Linked DNA regions of Homo sapiens: regions 2 and 3 are each linked to region 1. The links are contacts of gene promoters, found by promoter capture Hi-C in blood cells and fetal thymus (Javierre and others, 2016). All regions are on one chromosome and are shown on one strand. Each heading gives the region's core, a stretch centred on a gene start or on the middle of the fragment in contact. The rest is flanking DNA. Distances are from core to core; before and after follow the strand shown.

Region 1 (3,915 bases), core at 657-3,156:
ACCCAACTTGTCCATCATGCCATGAAGGGGGCGCTTACAGAGTGTCTTCCCTGTGCTGGAGATCAATAGCACCTGGGAAGTTAAGGCCTCTGCCCTCAGTGGGCTTCCTCTCTAGTAAGGGGTCGCACATTAAGCACGCATGAATAAATAATCACAGCTTATAGGAGGAGCTATGAAGAAAAGTCAGGAATGTCTGAGAGAACAGTCACTGGGAACTGAGGGCTGAGGAGGTGCTTGTACTCTGACCCTGATGTGCTTGCAAGGAGGGAGGTGGGGTGGGAACTATGAGCTCCTCAGAGCACCCTGGAGGTAAAGCTGGTGGCACAGACTTTGTGCAGGTGAGGGTGTGTGTATGGGCTGTGCAGAACATAGTGAAGCCCCCTCCACCAGGAAGCCCTCCCTGACTGACACTGAGGTCACTGAGTCTCCCCTCTGGTTTACTGAACCCTGGATGTGTTTCTTGCAGCCTCTGGTTGGCCCACCAAATTCAGGACTTTCCTAGAAATTCTCCAGCACAGTCAGGATGATGCAAGAGAGGGCTTCCTCTGCAGGGGAAAGAGAGGGTGCTCTCCATTGGACCATAATAATATCCTCAGCATCAGACTCGGGTGTTTTGCAGGCAGCATGCTGGGGACTTCTGTGGCCTTGCTTGGTGACAGGGAATGGGGTGTGATGAGCTGGGGCAGGCTTCCTGGGGATGCTTTCAGCCAAAGATGAGCCCTGTCTGCCCTTGGCCCTGCTGAGAGGGTAAGTTGAGTCATGAGCAGAATTCAACCAGTTATCAGATGGAAGGCCAAGGAAGCTTGGGGAGGGCTACTGAGGGGATACGGTAGGCTTGTCTGTGGAGAGCAAAATTCTTCAGTCTACAAAGTTCTTTTCTGGGCTCCTTCATCTTTCGGTTTCTCTTCCAGCTCCCTCGTTTTGGGCCTCTTTTGTTTCCCCATTCCCCTCCCCTGGGCCTTCCCGTTTGGAAAAGGGGTCACATATCCTCACCCTGGAGGCGTCTGCCCCTTCCACACAGTTGGTGTTGGAACAGTGGAGCTCAGAGAGGCCGATGCTGACCGCGTAGATGTCCAGCACCAACAGTGGGATTTTGGGCCCTGTGGGGGACACAGAGAGAACTCTCCGGGAGTGCGGCCCCTTGGCCTCCCCTCTGGGTGCCCAGTGGGCAGTGGGCCTGGGTGGCTCAGAATCCCAGCCAGGAGCACTGAAGGTCAACAGGCTCCCGCCCTGAGTTTTCTGAGCCAGGCCTCCCTGTTTCCTCCCCAGCCAGTGGGGAGCGCAGTGAGGGGCGGGGCCTGGAGTCTTGGGAGCTCCCTGGACAACAACATGCATTTAGCGCAGCTCAGTCTCAGAGCCAGCAGGATATGTTTTCTTAAAAAAAAAAAAAATGCCTAACATCTTGGCTTTCACCGAAGGGTTGGTATCTGCTTTGTACACTTTGGCCTTCTTGGCTTTTCACTGAAACACACACACATGGATGCACACTCACTTCCACACACAAACCCACACCAAGACAGACACACACACACACTCACACACAAACTCATGTACATGGTTTCATACCCACATCCATGCAAACACACATACAAATCCAGAAATACGCACCCTCACACCCACAAACTTGTACACACACACACACGTATACACACCAACACACATACAACCCTGGCTTGGACAAAAGCTTCCCGTTTTTTCTTGTTTGAAGTGGAAATCTCCCACCTTCCATGAGATTCAATTTCTCGCCCTTCCCCCGCTAAAATCCTCCTGGCCCCATCATTTCTTGGGTCCTTTCCAGACAGTGCTGTGTCTTTAAGGAAGTTGAAGCTGCTAAAAGTGAGTGAGAGAGAGAGAAAAAACACAACCCAAAAAAATTTGGCATCTCTTCCCCCCTCAAGTTTCTGGTGTCACTTATGAAACACAGGTCCTTGTTGCTGCAGAGAAGCAGTTGTTTTGCTGGAAGGAGGGAGTGCGCGGGCTGCCCCGGGCTCCTCCCTGCCGCCTCCTCTCAGTGGATGGTTCCAGGCACCCTGTCTGGGGCAGGGAGGGCACAGGCCTGCACATCGAAGGTGGGGTGGGACCAGGCTGCCCCTCGCCCCAGCATCCAAGTCCTCCCTTGGGCGCCCGTGGCCCTGCAGACTCTCAGGGCTAAGGTCCTCTGTTGCTTTTTGGTTCCACCTTAGAAGAGGCTCCGCTTGACTAAGAGTAGCTTGAAGGTAAGCCAGTGGGGAGGAGGGCTCCAGGGCCAGCGGCGGGAGCGGGAGGCCTGTTGGACATAGGGGCTGGTTCCCTCTTGGTCCATCCCTGCTGGTCTGAGGTGCGTGGGACAATCCCTAGCTTGGAGCCGTCCAGGGGGCATCTGCTTCTTCCACAACCCACAACTGAGGCCCCAGAAATCCCAGCTGCGTTTGGGCTGAGCCTCTGGCCTCACCCAAGTCAGCTGAGAGGTCCTGGCGGGGGTTTATTTAGGCAGCTGCCTGGCTAAGTTTGAACAGAACAGGCCACGGGTGTGATTCCACAGAAAAGGCCTGGTGTCTGCTGCGGTCATGGCCGGAGGAGCGGGAGAGGGCGGGTGGAGTGGATGGGGGTGGTGTGCACTGCACAAGGGGCCTCGTCTGGGCCAAGGCAAAGCATACCTATGGGGGGCTCCGGTGGGAGGGACTGCGGCCAGGATGTGGGAGGGCAGGGGGAGGTTCTGCAAAGTGCTGGGGGAGGGGGGTGGCTGGAAAACAGATTTCAAGTCATAAAGTCAGCTAGGAACAGGCCGAGGCAGGGAGAACTCTCCACTCGGAGGAGGAGCTGGGGTCCTCTTCCATCCCGTCTTCATCCTGCCTGGCTGCGTGACCTCGGGCAAGTCTCCGCCCTTCTCTTGGCCTCAGTTTCTCCTTCCGTAGGATGGGGGCGGTGGGCTAGGTGGTGTTGGGATTTAGCTGGGTTATGTGGGACAGGGCCTCCTGATGGGAAAGAGCTCTGGCTGGGCTTGTGGGAGGAATGAGTCCCTTTGGCAGGTTCTCGGGATCCCCTGGGTGACATGCCTTTCTCTGCAGGAGGCACCATGCAGGAGCTGCATCTGCTCTGGTGGGCGCTTCTCCTGGGCCTGGCTCAGGCCTGCCCTGAGCCCTGCGACTGTGGGGAAAAGTATGGCTTCCAGATCGCCGACTGTGCCTACCGCGACCTAGAATCCGTGCCGCCTGGCTTCCCGGCCAATGTGACTACACTGAGCCTGTCAGCCAACCGGCTGCCAGGCTTGCCGGAGGGTGCCTTCAGGGAGGTGCCCCTGCTGCAGTCGCTGTGGCTGGCACACAATGAGATCCGCACGGTGGCCGCCGGAGCCCTGGCCTCTCTGAGCCATCTCAAGAGCCTGGACCTCAGCCACAATCTCATCTCTGACTTTGCCTGGAGCGACCTGCACAACCTCAGTGCCCTCCAATTGCTCAAGATGGACAGCAACGAGCTGACCTTCATCCCCCGCGACGCCTTCCGCAGCCTCCGTGCTCTGCGCTCGCTGCAACTCAACCACAACCGCTTGCACACATTGGCCGAGGGCACCTTCACCCCGCTCACCGCGCTGTCCCACCTGCAGATCAACGAGAACCCCTTCGACTGCACCTGCGGCATCGTGTGGCTCAAGACATGGGCCCTGACCACGGCCGTGTCCATCCCGGAGCAGGACAACATCGCCTGCACCTCACCCCATGTGCTCAAGGGTACGCCGCTGAGCCGCCTGCCGCCACTGCCATGCTCGGCGCCCTCAGTGCAGCTCAGCTACCAACCCAGCCAGGATGGTGCCGAGCTGCGGCCTGGTTTTGTGCTGGCACTGCACTGTGATGTGGACGGGCAGCCGGCCCCTCAGCTTCACTGGCACATCCAGATACCCAGTGGCATTGTGGAGATCACCAGCCCCAACGTGGGCAC
Region 2 (3,915 bases), core at 520-3,019, 110 kb after region 1:
CCATCCCCTTCTCCATCCCTCATCACCACCTTCACTGCAATACCATCATTGTTCTCTATGCAACTGCAAACATTTCTGAAGCACCCACATGAGCAATTGCTGTTCTGGATTTTAGGAATATTACACTGAAGAAGAAGAAGAAAAAAAAACAATCAGGCCCTGTCTTTCTAAAGCTTGCATTCTTAGCAGGGAGTATGGAACAGACAATAAAAAAATAATTCATGTCAGCTAATGATAAAGGGTCTGAGGAAACTCAAACAAGGTGACATGATACGGAGTCCTTGAAGGGGCTATTTGGACTCCTCATGGTAGCTGAGTACGGTGATGAGCTAAGCTGCTATAACAAAGAGATCAGGTTCCTGCCCCCTTATTGTTGCGCCTAAGGTGTTGCCTGCAACTTCATCATGGAAGGTACCTGGTATTCATCTCTGCATCCTAGACTTTGGGAAGGCAGCAGCAGGGCTGGGGCCATCAACTCTTCCACCCTTTAAATCAAATATTGCATAATGGGTCCAGAAGCCACCACCTGACACCTGGAGGTCTTAGAGTCCTGTGGACACTCCAGCTGCCGAGGCTTGTGATATTGGGCCTCTCAGGCCCCTCGTTCACATGGTCAACAACTCCATCCTAGGGGTAGCTCTTTGCATGTGGTCAGACATGGTCAGTGCTGTCACAGAGCGGAAATGCTTCAGGAGAAATGAATGCGCGTGCCGTATTTGGGCCCAGCCCCAGTCTGAGGACATAGGCTCTTTCCATGAGCCTCCATGTCCAGGAGTTTTGGGCACAGGCTGTCCTGGATAATTGGACATTTTGGTGAACACAGCTTCCCCACACCCGCCACTACCACGTCACCCATTCTCAGAGCTTTCAGAAGCAGCATGGTGAAATTTGCAAATAGGCAGAGACAGCAGTGGCCTCTCTCAACAGCCCACACTGGACAGCAATCTCCCTGGCAGCACGTGGTCATCCCAGTCTCTCCTCCTGTGCTGCCATGACAGACAGCTCACTACCTCCAGAAGCAGGCCTTCCTATGGCTGAGTGATAGAAATGGCCACCCCACATGATCTCAACCTGCCTCCTGGGGACCTCCCTCTGCCCCAAGCTCCTGGCTTTGCCCCCGAGGCTGCAGGGCGACCTCAGCAAGCCTCCTACATAGATCACATAGTCAGCCAACACTTTTGAGGGCAGACTAGATAACAAAGCCTGCAGACTCAGTGAATGGCAAGAGGTGGTGGTCTCTGGTTTGGAATATTGCACTTGAAGGTGGTTGGTTGGTGATGGGTTCGTTTTTCACCCTCTGGTAGGACTTCTCTAGTCATTTGCTGCTTAAAGTGATCTGCATTAAGATGGCTTGTGTGTGTAGGTGAGTACGTATATGAACACACACAGATCACACAAAAACTAGAAAAACATGTACACTCATATACAAAAACACATACACAGAAAACTTCCCTTTATTGCACATTCAGTGGGGACTGGCCTTTGAGGTCCATTAGGCTCTAAAAATCCATGAGTCTGGCTGGGTGCGGTGGCTCACGCCTGTAATCCCAAGACTTTAGGAGTCTGAGGCGGGCGGATCATGAGGTCAGGAATTCAAGACCAGCCTGGCCAACATGGTGAAACCCTGTCTCTACTAAAAATGCAAAAATTAGTTGGGTGTGGTGGTGGGTGCCTGTAATCCCAGCTACTTGGGAGGCTGAGGCAGGAGAATAACTTGAACCTGGGAGGTAGAGGTTGCAGTGAGCCAAGATCATGCCACTGCACTCCAGCCTGGACAACAGAGCAAGACTGTGTCTCAAAAACAAAAACAAACAAACAAAAAAACTCCATGAGCCTATGGCTACTCCACATACACACACACACAGAAACCTTTGGTCTCCTCCATTCCTCCTCTGATCTCAGCCTCTTCTCTTTGAAGAGTGTGATGTGGTCTCTGGGGAGTCTACACTTCCCCAGGCAAAGCAGCTTGGCTCTCTTAATGAACTGGTTTCGAGATCCCACAGCATCCTGGGTGCCCTCCAGCTTGCAGCCAGCCTCTTTGAAGTGAGGCCCACACTGCCCAGGTTTCCTGGGCTGACCTTGTGGATTGGAGCCTGGCATGCACACAGTAGGTGCTCACTGCATCAGTTCCTGCCTCTCTGCCTGGAAATGCACCTCCCCATGAGGTGGGACAAGTTCATGCCGTCATCTGGGTATACAGCAACATTTCTCCTCTTGCATTTAAGATTTGGGATCCATCACCTTGCCCAGATAGGGCACCAGGCAGAAGTAGGGCCTCTCAGATGGGTGGCCACACCCTCCTCAGCCCACAGCCCACAGACATGCTGGGATGACGTGAAACCCCCTGGCTTCCTGGGAGTATAGAGAGGGTGCATTTGAGGAGAGGTGGCAGTGGCACCTGCTGCCACCACTGAGGGGAGGGGCAGGTGCCATGGTCCCATCTGACCTTCCCCCTCCCTCTTCCCCTCATAGGGAGAGAGGGGGGCAAGTCTTTGATGCTACTCTGGTGGCTTCTTTTCAGACTAGTTACAAAGATCTCTCTGGAGACCAGCCCAGAGTGAGGACAAGTGGCCACTTAGCAAATATAGAGGAAAGGGCAGGGGACAGGCAGCATCATGCTGGCTTTTGAAGAATTTTTATGGATTTTTTGTAAGCCACACCTGACACCCCTGAGATGGTCCTTAGAGAAACTGCAACACAAACCTCCCTCCATTTCTTCCCCAAGCACAGCGGCCTGAATGGGCCAGTGCCCAGGGCAGCACAGCAGTCTCCTCCACTGGTTCTGCCCTCTGAAGGCTCTGTTCCCACCCCCAAGACTCCATCTGTGAAAACACTACCATAAGGATGGATCCAGAGAGAGAGACCCTTTCCCTGCCACTATCTCACACCATCCCTCACTGCCCTCCTTTCCACACCCAAAGCCTCTGCCCTCCTATCCTCTCATTGCCTCAGGTCATTTGGCAGGAGGCAGAGGAGACAGATCCACCCCTTACCCACAGGTGCCCTTTCCCTCACCTGCTCAGGTTCTAGGTCCAGTGTAGAGCTCTTCCCATCCCATCCAAAGAAAACTTAGAGCTGGGCGTGGTGGCTCTGGAGAGATTAAATCTGTATACCTGTAATCCCAGCACTTTGGGAGGCCGAGGTGGGCAGATCACCTGAGGTCAGGAGTTTGAGACCAGCCTGGCCAACATGGAGAAACCCCGTCTTTACTAAAAATACAAAAATTAGCTGGGCTTGGTGGCAGGAGCCTGTAATCCCAGCTACTGGGAGGCGGAGGTTGCAGTGAGCCGAGATCACACCACTGCACTCCAGCCTGGGCGACAGAGCAAGACTGTCTCTAAAAACAGAAAACAAACAAATCAAAGGAAGCTTAGGATGGGGCAGGAGAGACATGAGAGTCTGTGCTTTCACAAGGCCAACCTGGCCCCCAGGTCACAGACTCTGTGTCGGAGCAGGGCTGGCCATCCCACCTCTCCTCCTGCGCTGCCATGACGGAGGCTCCTACCTGCTTTCCACAATGCCTGAATCCCCCTATAGTGTTCCCTGCCTTGGGGACAATATTGGCCTCCCTTGGTGATCATGCAACTCCCATGCTGCCCACTTCAGAGAGAAGGAACTGAACAGTCCCTCCAGAACACACACAGAGTTTGACAGACTCTACTTGGTCATTTCCCGACAGAGAGTTCATTACCACCCAGGATGCCCTCTCCATCCTCTACTAGCTCCCTTCTAAACTTCCTTCTGTCTCTCTTCAATTTCCTCCCCCTGGCCCTGCCTTTTCCTCCCAGAGGCCAACTCCAGAGAAGTCAGGGCCTGTCAGCCCTACTGACATTTGCAAACTATTTATGGCATCTCCAGCCTGAACCCACTCTCATTCCTCTTCCTCTTTGTAGCACTTGGTTTCTGATTCTTGTC
Region 3 (3,915 bases), core at 682-3,181, 89 kb after region 1:
AGAGCCTGCAGGGGTGTGTCTGGATGGACGCTCATCTGAGAAGGACTCCGGCTCTCTGGGAGATGCCCCTTCTCACCCCAGCTTGTACTCAGTGCTCCTTCCCCTTCATGCTGCCCTCAGGCAGGTCCTCTTGCAAAAACACCCAAGCTGTTTTGTATCACAAATGAGGGAATAACATGAACTGGGGCTTTCTGGATGCCAGGAGCTGAACATGCTTTCTTTCCAGTCCTTATAACACTCTCTCAGGGCGGTACTATTGAAAAAGGAGGAACTTAGTAGGTGCAGAGGGGAGATGATCTCGCCAGGATAAACGCGGGCTCCAAACCCAGCTCTGAATCATTCCCAAGCCTGTGCTCTTTCCAGGATTCCACACCTTGGCCCGAGCAGCCAGACATTCCCAATTGTAGACCCAGAACTGGGGGCATGATGGGGAAAAATCACGCCACGGCAAAGGGGCTGGTCACAGGAGGGTCAATAAGGCTAAGCTCTCTGGTGCTATGGGGTAATAACAGGAATCATATTTATATTTTAATAATTTAAGGTACTAAGAATTATTAACACTTTCTTGGTACTTAGCAATGTGCCAGGCACTACACATATTCATTCGTTTCCTTCCCACAACCGCCCTGCAGGCTGGGCACCGTTAGCATCTCTGTTTTATAGATGAAGAAAATAAGGCACCACAGGTTCTGTACCTTGCCTAACATCACACAGCTGGCACGGGGTAGAGCTGGGATTTGGAACCCAAAATGCCCAGCTGCAGGGTCCTTCTTACAATCACTGTGTCATACTGCCTCAGTCAAAGCACAGCAGGAGTCCTCAGTTGACCCCTGGAACTTGGAGATGGAACTCCTGCAAGCATGGTCACCCACAGAAGAAGGGCTCCTGCAAGCATGGTTACCCACAGGAGCAGGGCTGTGATGAGTGGGAGCAAGGAGCCAGGTCACAGCGTCACTTAAGTCTAAAGGGCAGAGGGAACAGTGAGGGCCGGGGGACTCCAGAGGGCTTCTTGGAGGAGAGGAACAAGCTGGGCTGGGAAGAACCATGTTGGTATTGCTAATGCACAGAGAAGGTGGGGTCTGAGCCAACTGGCCTGCCCCACACTCCCTTTGGGGTCCTTGAGGGTGAAACAAGGGCTGGTGGGGATGACGTCTTTGTTCCCATCCTGGGGTACCATTAGTGCGTCTTGCCTCCCTCCGCAAGGTGTGTGGTGTGGCTCCCCCTGCTACAGGATCTCTGGGATGATTCCTCAGCCCATGACTGCTGCAGTTAATGGAGCAGCGCTGGGGATGGCCCTGGCCTAGTAACCTCTTCTACAGAAGAAGTATTCACTCTCTCCCTGAGCCGTTTGACGGCTCTGGATCTCCGATATCTGTGGGGTGCACTGGGATGCAGAGGGCCCAAGCTTACCTCTCACCTTATACAGCCTGGTCCTGAACAATCTGAGTGCTTGAGGGCTGGAAAGCCCTTTCCACCACCCCCTGCCCCCAGGCCTGGACCCAGCTCCAGGTTTCCAGCTCCAGGGGCCCAGCCCAAGGCCCTGCACACAGCAGGCATCTCAGAAGGCAGCAGGATGTGCGTGCTTCATTGCAAGCATTTAGAACTGGGATTGCCGGGTGGAGCCTGGAAATCTGGGCCAGAAGTTTAGGGAAATAAGGTGAAGAAGAGAGGACAGCCAGGCGGGGCATCGCACAGCCACTCTGCCCAGAGGATTCCTCCCACCGAAACAGAACCTAGAGAAGAGGGAGGCCATGCACACGGGCTCCTGCTGGAGAGCCCTCCCTGGCAAGGGCTAGGAAGTCAGGCGGGCAAAGCATCTACCCTCTACCCCCATCCCTACCCCTGCCCTGAGCCTCTCTAAGTGAGAGGCTTGTGACTAAGTGAAGGCCTCAGTAGTGGCCAGCGAGACAGTGTGGTCACCTGGGCTGGCAGGAGAGCTGGGGGAGAGGCCTGGGATGACACAAGTGTCTATGCATGGGACAGAGCTCTCCATATTCTGTCCACCTTTCACTCAGATTTATGGACAGTGGAGCCTGGGATGGGGACAAGCAGCAGACAGAACCCCTCCCTTTGACTCACCCTGCCCCTGCTCTCCCCAGGAAAAGCACATCTGAGGAAAAGAACAATCAGAGCTCCAAGGCAGTCACATCTGTGACCTCAGAGCCCACCAGAGCCCCTATCTGGGGGGACACGGTGAATGTGGAGATCCAAGCTGAGGATGCAGGGCAAGAAGGTAAGCAGGGGCTGGGCAGGGCCGGCATGTGCAGGCAGGGTGTGAACACAGCCAAGGACTTAGAGCAAGAAGCAGGCTCCCTCTCACTGCAGCTGGTAGCCACCTGAACACCTCCTTGGGCTCAGTTAAAAGCACTTAGAAAAAATCATAATACTGTCACGCCTCATCTCCCCATCCTGCTCGAAAAATGAGTTGTTCCACATAAATGAATTTTCCAGACAATGCAAGCTTATCTTTTTTATGACTGTTGTTATTATTTTCATGGCTGTTATTAGCGCTGTCTCCTACTGAAACAGGACATTACAGCTTCCTGGCACGTCCCCACACATCACTCATTGGAGTCACCACCTCCCAGGAGGAGCAATGCTGCTCCCATTGCTTAAGAGAACATCGAGGTTCAGGGAATTTAACTGGCTTAAGCTTAAGACCAAGGACCAAGGACTCAGCATTGCATGTTCTTACTGCAGCTCCAGGGTTCCCGCTGCTTCCATTTGATTTTTTAAAAAATATTTGAAATGTCCCTAGAATGGATCCCTATTCCTGCCTAGTCCTCCCCAGGTGTCAGCCTGAGCCACGAGGTGCCCATGTACACACATGCATGTGCACACTTATATTTACTTTCACACTGTGGGTCTGTTGGATTTCCATTCTCCTGGGGGAGCTCAGGCTGGACACAAGGGAATACTGATTGGCTGATGCCCGGGTAGGGGGGCATCGCATCTGGCACTGCCAGCACAGACTGGAGGTGCCTGGCGATGTCTCTGATCTTATCTAGTCAGGACCTCAGACTTGCTTCTTGCAGGTGGTCTCTCCCTGAGAGGACAGGCTTTGCCTCTCCCCCTTGAAATCTTGCCAGGACCTAGACAGATCTCCTTGTTCTCCTCACACAGAGCAGAAAGCCAGCTGAAGACTATGGGAGAGGAGAAAGGAAACAGGAAGGGGAGCCTCCGTAAAAGGGGAAGGAGCTAGTTCTAGGTCAAGCCAGATAATTTTTCTTTTCTGCCTGTAAAGGGATAGGTGGAGCTGTTGGGATGCTTTAAGAAGATGCAAAAGAGGAGGAAAAATTGACCTAGGATTTCATGCAGAGGCACATGCGTGCCTGTGTGTGCATGTCTTTGTGAATGCCTGCATGCTGGTTCATGCGCATGTGTGAATGTGGTGTGTGCTGTGTCTGTACTTGTAGGCATGCATGTCTGTGTGTCTTATGTGTGTGTGCGCGTGGGTGTGTCTAGCTGCAACAGTGTGGTTATATGTGTGTCTGGATGAATCTGGATGGTGGTGTATGCCTTGCAGTGCACAAGTATGTATAGATCGTGTGTGTGGCTCTGTGTGTATGCATGCATGTATTTATGTGGCTGGTGGGAAGTTAGAGGTTATGATGAGTGGACCTGAGCTGGGATCCTGCCCTGGGCTCTACATACTTGGGGTAACAGAGGAAAAAATGTAATAAGGTCAGTGACCCCAGGGCCCATCTGTGCAGCAGAGAGAGGGGCAGGACTAACTGCAGGAGGGACAAGAGAGTGGGGAGGCCTCATGGGCAGGCAGGGAATATTGGCAGGCATCTCATTGCAGATTGAAGTAGCTGGATGCTTGTTGGAACCGGTTGCTGTGGTGATGTCTGCGGTGGGGGTGGGGGAGATGGAGGCCAGGCCAAGAGGCGGGGGAAGGGTGGGAGGTAGCTC

The links. The method cuts DNA at HindIII sites, captures the fragments that hold promoters and counts their contacts. A CHiCAGO score of 5 or more calls a contact.
Region 2: a contact is called between a fragment that was not itself captured here and the fragment with the promoter of ISLR in region 1, in 1 of 17 cell types (endothelial precursors). The highest score is 5.0, in endothelial precursors.
Region 3: a fragment that was not itself captured here is called in contact with the fragment with the promoter of ISLR in region 1 in 1 of 17 cell types (endothelial precursors); the score reaches 5.1 in endothelial precursors.

The regions. Positions count from the first base shown.
Region 1 is chr15:74,171,804-74,175,718 of GRCh38, forward strand. ISLR (immunoglobulin superfamily containing leucine rich repeat) reads left to right here and starts at 1,907. Exons shown (of 2, transcript NM_005545.4): 1 at 1,907-2,216; 2 at 3,048-3,915. The coding sequence starts at 3,056. RefSeq lists enhancers at 652-1,640, 1,641-2,628, 2,629-3,617. The HindIII fragment of the contact is 10,197 bases long and covers 1,683-3,915 here.
Region 2 is chr15:74,284,449-74,288,363 of GRCh38, forward strand. All of the region lies in intron 10 of CCDC33 (coiled-coil domain containing 33), which reads left to right. Among named protein-coding and RNA genes, the nearest start is that of CCDC33-AS1, 33 kb to the right of the region's middle. The HindIII fragment of the contact is 3,196 bases long and covers 172-3,367 here.
Region 3 is chr15:74,260,341-74,264,255 of GRCh38, forward strand. CCDC33 (coiled-coil domain containing 33) reads left to right here. Exons shown (of 19, transcript NM_025055.5): 3 at 2,100-2,233. Among named protein-coding and RNA genes, the nearest start is that of CCDC33, 26 kb to the left of the region's middle. RefSeq lists enhancers at 2,961-3,793, 3,794-3,915. The HindIII fragment of the contact is 1,056 bases long and covers 1,404-2,459 here.